Linked DNA regions of Homo sapiens: region 2 is linked to region 1. The links are contacts of gene promoters, found by promoter capture Hi-C in blood cells and fetal thymus (Javierre and others, 2016). All regions are on one chromosome and are shown on one strand. Each heading gives the region's core, a stretch centred on a gene start or on the middle of the fragment in contact. The rest is flanking DNA. Distances are from core to core; before and after follow the strand shown. Region 1 holds the start of SKAP1-AS2 (SKAP1 antisense RNA 2). Region 2 overlaps HOXB3 (homeobox B3).

Evidence for each region. The method cuts DNA at HindIII sites, captures the fragments that hold promoters and counts their contacts. A CHiCAGO score of 5 or more calls a contact.
Region 2: a contact is called between a fragment that was not itself captured here and the fragment with the promoter of SKAP1-AS2 in region 1, in 1 of 17 cell types (total B cells). The highest score is 5.1, in total B cells.

The regions. Positions count from the first base shown.
Region 1 is chr17:48,292,354-48,296,916 of GRCh38, reverse strand. SKAP1-AS2 (SKAP1 antisense RNA 2) reads right to left here and starts at 2,570. Exons shown (of 2, transcript NR_131240.1): 1 at 2,402-2,570. The region is part of intron 4 of SKAP1 (src kinase associated phosphoprotein 1); the gene reads left to right. The HindIII fragment of the contact is 1,397 bases long and covers 1,393-2,789 here.
Region 2 is chr17:48,561,832-48,566,752 of GRCh38, reverse strand. All of the region lies in intron 2 of HOXB3 (homeobox B3), which reads left to right. It overlaps HOXB-AS2 (HOXB cluster antisense RNA 2), which reads right to left. Exons shown (of 2, transcript NR_046610.1): 2 at 4,776-4,921. Among named protein-coding and RNA genes, the nearest start is that of HOXB-AS2, 8.1 kb to the right of the region's middle. RefSeq lists an enhancer at 1,596-2,400. The HindIII fragment of the contact is 5,439 bases long and covers 1-4,294 here.

The DNA.
Region 1 (4,563 bases), core at 1,321-3,820:
CTTCCACCAGCAGGCCTTCAGAAAAGGAAAAATGGCTTCAGTTTCTGAAGCTGTAGTGCTTTTTTTTTTCCTAATTAAAGATGATAAAATGCAAATGATTACCTGTATTCTGAATATTTTATAATAATATTTTCTATTTTTCTCTGAAAAAATGAGGAAGTTATCACTTTTTCCCAAGACTGGAATGGAGAGAATACCAGCCAACCATGATGCAGTGAATGTGTGCCAGTGTCTACTCCCAGCTGCTCACGTAAATCTTTCCTCACAGCAGGATTTGAACAAAAACTTACCACTTAACTGAATAGTTCAAATGCTACTGAGTAGGAAATTTTAGTTAGACCAGAATATTTGCAAACTTAAAGTAGATACATGTATTCTGGCAGCATATATGGTATTTTGAAACATCAAAACAATTTTAAAGAAATCTATGCTCTTATGCCAGTCGTGGGTATTACTTGTTTTAGGACTTTGAAAGTATTTCTTTTATACTATAGCTGTTTTTTTAAACAACAACAACCACCTTGCTTCATTTTCCTTTTTATTTTTGAGCTGTTTGCAACCTATTTTCCAATAGTGAGAAACAATGCAATTAATTTTCTCCAGCGCAGTCATGCATAGATTTAATAAGCATCCGAAGGTAGGATCCATCTGTAAAGTATGCATTGCATGCTAAATTACTTCTCTTCTGTGGTTTTTTTTTCTTTCCAAACCTTAATTAATTGAAGAAAAAAATGTTTATTAAAGTGGGAACAGGCTGGGCTCTGGCTCTCCATCTCTGGTTCAAAAGTTCATACAATTCCCTGAAGGCTCATCTGAATGTGTGTGTCTCCCTCTCACAATCTTTCTTTCTCTGTCTCTATAGTAGGGATAAATGCCTAGAAAAGGTGTATTGTTTTGTTCCCAGGATCAATTTTAATAATCTTGAGTAAACTAAGTTTTTCTATATACAGATTTGCATATATCGTATGTGTATATGCATATATGTTTTGCATATATTATATGTTTACATAAATAGTATATACACATAGACACATAAATGTGTTATGTACTCATTTTCCTAATGCTTAGAATTTTAAAAAATTGGTATATCACTCTCGGTGATATCTTTAAACAGGATGTAGATGGAGACCGGAAGTATAATTCTACAGGTGGATCTCAGACAGGAAATTAAAGGAATTACGTATGAAAAGAAGCTAGATCCTTATGGATAAATTTGTGCCAGACACAAAAATATTAAATATATCCAAATAGAGCAATGTTTACCCATAAACAGCGAAAATGGAAAAAAAAAAAAAAGAGGAAGTGACTCACTGCTATGAGAGGCTTTGGAAACTGAAGACATTTCCTGATCTGCAGCAAGCTTTCTGTGACCTAGGTGAAAAACGGCAAGCTTATTGTAAAAGAAAAAAAGTATCTTTAAAGATGGACTCAGAATTTTTTGAATCCTTTCAATTGCTTGCCTAGGATGTCATGACCTTCCTTTTCTTTTTTCAAAGTATGACTTTTTTCTCCTTATCATATGCTACAATTTTTAGGTCCCTGCTTTAAAAAGAAAGGAAATACAAGTTGTAGTTTATGTTCAAATTACTAGTTTCTCTTTTTAGTTTAAAGTACAATAAGTCTTCTTCCTTAACACAAGTAAGGTTTGCACTGTCACTTCCAGATTTAGACGTCTATGGAATCAGAAAGCAGTGCTGAACTTGACTGTGATCTTGCCCGATTGAAGTCAACTTCCTTTGCCCAGTTGCTTCGTGCAAAACATAGTGATCATATAAGAGTCTAGCAGAGGGCTTTCTACAGGTTGTTTCATTCTCTGTTTTAGACTTTTGTGCCTAAAACTACTGGTCTGTTAGTCATTTAAATTTTTACAAATAGCCATTTAAGTTGGGAAAAAATAAGCAGTACCAAAAGCTATTTTACTTTGGCATAGATGCAGCCTTTGTCATGCTGGCTCTTTTTGTCACATAGGTGTACCATCATATACCCTTACCATGTGTCAGATGAGCCATGGGGACATTCCTGGAAAGAACTTTAAGGAATCAACATTCCATATTTTCCTCTCAAAGTAACTGTTGCTACTATATATTGACATGTCCAGATTTAGGCCACTTTTGAAAACTTGTGAGTCAAATCACATGGAGGTGATGCTGAAGTATCATCACCACGTAACAGCCATAATTGATGTCTTGGGAACTTGAAGACTATACTATATAGGTCATGTACTATGTAGGGCATCTATTTATGTGTATAACATGTCATAATTTCCCCACACCCAAATTTCTGTGACTTTTGGAGGAATCTTGATAATTGCTTTCTACACAGATTTTGGTTTAGACTTCTGCGAAAACCCTGAATTGAATAGCTGTGGGTTTCACAAATTACATGCATGTAAACAACATACCTTTGAAAGGAGGATGTGTGGACCCTTTCTCCTATATGCTTATGTCTCTGTTGTCGTAGATTGGCGTCCTTTGTGAGCTATTCAGTGACATTTCAGAACCATTTTGCTCTGCAGAAAACCCGCAGTTGTGTTTCTTTAGCTGACACTGTGGCACTTGCACTCGAAATTGCTAGTTAGAAAAAAAAATTGTTGAGGCCGGTGGCTGTAATCAGCGTTGTTGCTGTCTGTTTCCTCAGACTAATAGCAGAGAGATCCGAGTCTGAGAGTTCAAACAGAGGTTATCTTTCCCAGGTAGCATCTCGTCCAACGAGAATTTGATTTTTTTCTATAGGACTTTACTCCATTAGATTAATGAAATTTCAATGAGAGCCTGGCGCCCCCTGAAGCTTTGTTAAGAAAACAAATGGTGATTCTGTAGGTGTGACAGCTTGCTTGGAGAGTTACCAGAAGGTGAATACATCCCCACAATCCAGGCAGCCTGGAACACATTGATCTCTATTTAAAGCACCAATCGGATTTTTGTTAATTATAAATGATTGATCTGCAGTTTTTTCCTCTCTCTCCTCTTATATGTGTGGTTCCCCCTCCTTCCCGCACTTCTAACTTCTTTGCATGCTGAGCGCAGAGCTTTTTGTTTAAAGGAACAATCATAGAGAGCAAATTATAGCAATACCCGGCAGCAATGCTGCTGTGAATGTCAATGTCAGAGCGTTCACTGTTCATCCGACAAAGGTGAGCCCTGAAGTAGATTTCAGTCTGACTCCATGTTCCCTCTTTACTTAGCTTATTCCTAAAATAAGGGATGATTTTAACAAAAAGAAAAGCATAGAATCACTAGAATAGTATTATAGATGCTATCATTATTACGTTTTAAAAGCTGACTTGTAAGCCTTGTACACCAATTCCACAGTGCTAACTCAGAACCTCGTATGTACCAGGATATGATGTGTGATCAAGCAAGCCCGTGTGGGACAACTAGGGAAATATCTAAGGGATATCCAAGGAATATCTTAAGTAAACTAAGGGAATATCTCTGACCTTAAATCTCAATTTATAGGCATTTAGGTGATTAATACACCTTTTATCATCTCTGTGGAGTAGTTTTAAAATAATGTTTAGAAGGCTTACTGAATTCAAAAACAGACACATGTATTATTCCTGATAATTGCTCACCACACATAGTTCTGAAGACCACAGAAGAACATTCCAAGCTTCTTTGTGGATCTATTTTAGTGAAAGTATCTGAGCTTTAAATGTATTTATTTATTGAATATAAAAGTACGTAATTCCTTCTAGTTATTTATAACATATACAATACATAAAGAAGTTAATTTATGCAGCTCTTGGAAAACATATTTGTAAAAATTACAGCTTAAGGATTACAGATATTAATATATTATATTGAAAACTACATAGATTTCACAATCTAACTCAAATGTAGATTTTTTATGAATGTGTCTTTCTTAAGTTTGAGCCTTTAATTAAGTTTTACGACGTATATTTTCAAGTTAGAAAAATGAACTTGCCCCAGTGTGCTTTTTTAAAAATTGTCTAAATAATCCACAAGAGATTGTTCTAGACCAAGAATCTTACAGTAGTTTATAGTTTGCAGTGACAATCCTCTTCAAAATCCTTTAGATTTGAAAAATTGTTACCTCATTTATTTGTTCTGAAACTTTGCTTAACTTCCTTATGAGTTGCAGTATCAGTAATTGTGTATGATAAATTCAACAGCATAAGAGTAATTCTGCCTTTAAAGCAGCAGCATGAAATGGTCAAGACCTGCAGTATAACTTACCATATCTCCCCATGCCCAAAATTCAGTGACTTTCTGAAGAAGCTTGCTATTGCTTTATGAACAGGTTCAAAGTCTATAATACTCATCCAAATATGAGAGGTGTTCTGACAGAACTTCCCCATAAGGTAATTATTTAATAATCTTGTAAATACTGTTGGGAAGACTAGATTTAAAGTATAATTTTGTGATGTAGTATTTTTTCTTGGTATCTTAAAATATGTATTTTTTCTTTTTATTGTTGCTTATTGTGTTTATCTCATTTTAAATTAGCAAAACTCATGAAGGCATATTTATAAATAGTTGTAACTATGACTTTTAAAATCAGATTTTGAATCAGCCAGAAAAAAAGCGATGTGTTTTTGTT
Region 2 (4,921 bases), core at 326-2,825, 270 kb before region 1:
GGAAGGATCACTTCTTCCATGGGGAGGAGGAGGGACATGACAGAGAAGGAAGAGGGTAGAATCATTTGTATTAGCTTCTGAATTCAGCATGCTTTGAAAGATGGGAAAGAAAAGGATCTGCTCTTTGGGCCAGCCCATAGCTAGCATGGAGAGCCAGTCCCACAGGCCCCTTCCCCCTGCGTTTGCAACTCCTCCTCCCCAACCCTTTTCCATCTCCCCTCCTGCTGCTACCTTTGCCTGTGACGTGGAAGTCTGACCAACCACCCCCACCCCCACTCCACCAGCTTTTCCTCTTTATTCTTTCAGCCCTCTTCAGGTCTTTGTCTCCTCTGGCCCAGAGGAGAGGAGGTGACACTGATACCCCCTCCCCTTCCCTTTCCCCAACACGCACAGACTCTTCCCCAGGAGACAAAGCAAGGGGACCATCCCTTGCCACCATTATCTGGTAAATCCCCCATGTGATGCCTAATGCCTTCCATCCAGGCATCTAGGCCTACCCCAAATCAGCAAGTTTGAAAGGACTTTGTTGTTTATATATACATTTGCTTCATTTAGCTATGAAGCACCCTGTCTCTTACCAGTCCTGCACCCTCCACCCCACTGATTTGCTTTTGTGTTGTTCAGGGGTTGGGATAGAATGCATCTGGTAGACAGAGCTCTAAGAAAGCTGCTGACTCTGTCTTCTCCCCTAACTCTCTGCTGGTATCCTCTCTATATAATTGCAGTGTTTATCTCTGTGCCTTTAAGGAGGCAGGCTGCTAACGCTTTAGTGACCAGAGGAATTGGATAGAAAGATGAAGAGTGAGATGAGGAAGAGAGGGACCCAGAGAGAGAACAAGCAGCAGGATCCCTTTCTGGGATGGGAAGTCAAGGCTGAGCCCAAGGAGGTGATGACAGGGAGAGTGGAAACAAAGGCCAGTCAGAGGGGAAGGGAGGCTGTCCTGGAGGAAGGAGCCCCACAATTCACAAGGGGACACACACACAGAGTTAAGTGAGAACAAGGGCAGTGGGAAGGAAACTACCCCTTTTGTCCCCTTCTCTCTAGAAGAGAATTTCTCTGGATAGAGGGTGGGTTCCCCCACAGAGGAAAGGGAAGAAGAGACTCAACCTAATGGGTGAGCCCAGAAGTGATTTCTGGAGACACTCCTAAATCCTTTGCAAGGCTCAATTCAAATTCACTGAAGACACTGAGAGACGCAGAATTGGAAAAAGACAAAGGGGCTGTGAGAAAGGAACGGAGACAACAGAGATGGTTAGAAAAGACAGAGAGACCCAACACAGAAAAAAAGCCCAAACCCTTTGGGGAGCAGGCACAGAGGGAAGCCCCTCCAGGCTCCCTGCTCCCTAGCAGCCTTCTTTACAGGAAGCTGCCCAAAGCCCAGGCCATCTCAGAAACAACTGCCTCTAGAGTAGGCCCTTGGGGGTGCTAAATCAGGTGTGAGGCAGCTGTGGCAGGAGCTGAAGTGCCAGGGAATGGCCAAGATGTCCAGGACACTTCAGCCTCCACCACAATCACCAGCATCAGTAACTTAATCATTGGGACCTCCCCAAACAGAATTTCATCATGGGGGTGGGGGGAGTTGGGACTTTCACACCTGGACCCTGGAATCCTTTCTTGGCTTTTCTTCCCCCTTGTGGGTTTGGTCTCTTTTTTTCTCTAGGGACCTGGGGAAGTTGTTGATCTTCCAGCCGCCTAAGAACTTTCACCTCCATTCCACATCTCCTCCCTCAAACTCCCAGCCTTAACAAGCGGATGCTTCCCCTACTAATCTCCTTCCTCCCCCATCTTACAGGAAAGAACAAGAAAAGGAAAAAGAGAAAGCAAGTTCCTACCAGCCTAAGCAGCTTTAGAAAACTCGAGGGAAAAGGGGAGATGCAAATCTTTCTCGCCCGTCTGATCCTTCCTATTGCCCCCTCGCCATTGCTCTGTTCCCTCCATTGCCGCCCTCCCTGTCCCCACTCCTGTCCTGCCCAGAACTCTCTCCCTTCCCCTCCCTTCTCTGCCGGGTCGGACATATGGAACCCATTTCGCTGGTGACATTGAAGAGTCGCCGGTGTGCCCGCCTTCCGCCATGGCGCCCCCGGCGCTCCCTACGCCTCGCCGTGCCCCTGTCAGTTGCCGCTCCTCTCGCCTGGCAACTTGGCCCGCTCTCAAAGCCCGAGTTCAGCTCGGTGCCAGACGAGCCCGGGGTTCCCGCAGCCCTGCGCGGCCCGGACGGAGTGGGAGCTTCTCAGGAAACTGGCGTCTGCCGCGCCCGGAGTGCCAGATCCGCGCGCTCCTGGGGCCCTGGAGGCCGAACAAAGCCGGGGGCGGGGGCGGGGGCGGGGTGGGGGCGAGCGCATCCGGGCCTCTCCCCCAGCTCGGCGGGACGCTCGGGGGTTGCTGGGGGTTGCTGCGGGTTGAGCGACTAGGATGCGGCTGGCTGCGGCGGCGGAGCCCCAGCCTGGGCCGAGGGTCCGGGGCCTGGCAGTCGGCCCCCGCGCGCACCCAGCGCCCGGCCGCCCGCCGTTGCCCGCGCCCTAGCGGAAGACCGCACAGGTAAGTGTGGGGTGCGGAGCCGGGGCGCTCGGGGCCTGGCGGGGGTGCAGAGGTGGGTGGCTGAGACCCCCGCCCCCAGGCCTCTCTCCTGGGACAGGCCGGGATCCGAATTGAAGACGAAGATGAGAGCAACTTTGAAAGGCAGGGTGGGGGCTTCAAGGGGGTAAAGGGACCTGGGGGTGGAGGACGAGTGTGGAGGAATGTGGAGCTGTTTGGGTGGGCGTGTGGACATGATCTTGTTAGGGGATGGGAGAGCCCTCCCGCTCAGAAAGGGCGTTGAGGCCCAGGAGGGTTTTCCAGGGCAGTTGGGGGCTGTGGGTACTGAGGGAAATGTGAGGGGCATCTGTTAGGGGCAGTGGGGTTGGGGGGCGACCGCTGGGTCAGCTTCCACAACCCAGCTGCCACCATTGCCCAACCCTTTAGCACCTAGCGGGTTATTTGAAGGCAAAACTACAAGGGATTGCACTGAGGCTGAGTGTTAAGCCCAGAAGGTAGGAAAGGGGGTGATTTATGGCTTCAGAGAAGCTGTGTTTACTCCTGCCTGCTCTGGAAACCAAAAACCAAACAGAGCAGAGGCCAGAGAAGCCCCTCTCCTTGGAGTGGGAAGCGATGCCAGCCTGACGCACTGGGATTTATTTTCCCAGATGAGGGAGAATAGTGGGAACTGTCCCTTTGCAGGCGCACAGTGTGGTGGGTGTATGCAAAGGGAGCATGTAAGCAGGCACATGTGTAGGTATGTTTGTGTATTGTGTGAGTGCATCTGCACATCGGGAGCTGTATGTACTCCAGGTGGGGCTTTGCGGATGGGTTTGCAGAATCACTTTGTGAGCTGGGAGATTGGGAGTCAGGAGAGAGACCCCATGTTCTCTGGTTCTGGAACTCTGGGATGAGGTAGCTCTAGACACACTGCCCCTTGTCCTGTCCACGAAGTAGTGCTCTTTCCTGCTTTTTTCTTCCCGCAGCCACATGCAGCAGAGCCCACTTGGCCTGGCCTCCTGGCCCCTGCCCCTCTACCCTTTCCCTGTGTGCCTCCTGTGCCTTCTGCCCACCCAGCCTCATCTTCACTTTGAATTTTTAACTTTGTGGTGGGAAGCCAAGGAATTAGTGAGTATGGTTGGTTGAGGAGGGGAGGCCAAAAGGAGAAAAGGCTTGGTGTGGTAGGGAAGATCGGGGAGATCCGTGGTTTGAGGCTGGACCTTGGCAGCCTTGTGTCCCACCATTACTGCTCGAATTCCCCCAAAATCTCTGTTTGGGAGTGGGGAGCAAGTGAATAATACAAAGACGAGCAGAGTAAGGGAGCCATGCAGGAGGATGGCGGTGGGGAGAAAAACATTTTGACCCCCAGATAGTAATTTCCGCAGGCCAACTAGTGGCTCTTGCATTTCTGTCCAGACACCCAGCTTTGCCTGGAAATTGTTTTGCATTAAATTTTCTCAGCCGCAGAATTATCTTTCCTCGCCTCCAGCTAAACTTGCATTTTTCCACCAGACACTTGGGCCCCGCACCAATGAAATCTGAGAGGAAGCGGCTGGGCCCTAAGTGGCCGTAATTTAATTGATTTTATCATAAATCATCAACTTGATGAAGAACCCGAGGTTTCAGTGAAGTAAATTGATATTAATGGGAGTTTCTTGAAATGCAAACTCGCTGCATTGTTGGGGCATCTTGAGCTGGGGAGGTAGATTACACATTTCCCAAGAGCAGAGAGCAGAGACCTGGAGCCCAGCACAGCTTTGGGGGTAGGGAAAGCAAGCTTTGAGGTGCAGCTGCCGGCAGACCTATTTCTATGGGGAAGCACAGCAGAGCGTGGAACTTTGTCATGAGGGACACAGTCTGGCCCTGTGGACCCTGCTGGCCATCTGGGGGAATGCTTGTCTCCAACTGAGGGGGAGGCAACTGGGAAGGCTGGTAGGTGTATGGGCAGGGAGGGGGTCGGGTGAGAGGGCTCGGCTGGTACAATGGGTGCATTGATGCCTGGTTAAAAATTGCCAGGTTGAAACCTTCCTCCTTTAATTAGACTAATTAATTATTTACTGCTCAAGTTGCAGTGTCTAAATATAGCACTTTTGGTTTGGTAATGAGGGTAGAAAACAACCCACCCTACACACAGAAGAGCAGTAAAACGCAGTGCATGAGCCTCTATGGGGCAAGGGAGGGCCAGGCATCGGGTTGGTGCTCAGTGGTGGTAAGCATTTAAACCTCAAGAGGAAATACTCTGAATCTGGTGACGATGGTGCCCGTTATTGTCTGAACTCAGTTTATTACTTCTTGTCACTCACTTTTACATCAGCACATGGAGAATCACTAACATTCAGTCCAAAAAGAGACCTTAGAGATCATTTAGCTAAACCCCTTCCCTCCATACACATGCCCAGGCTTTAC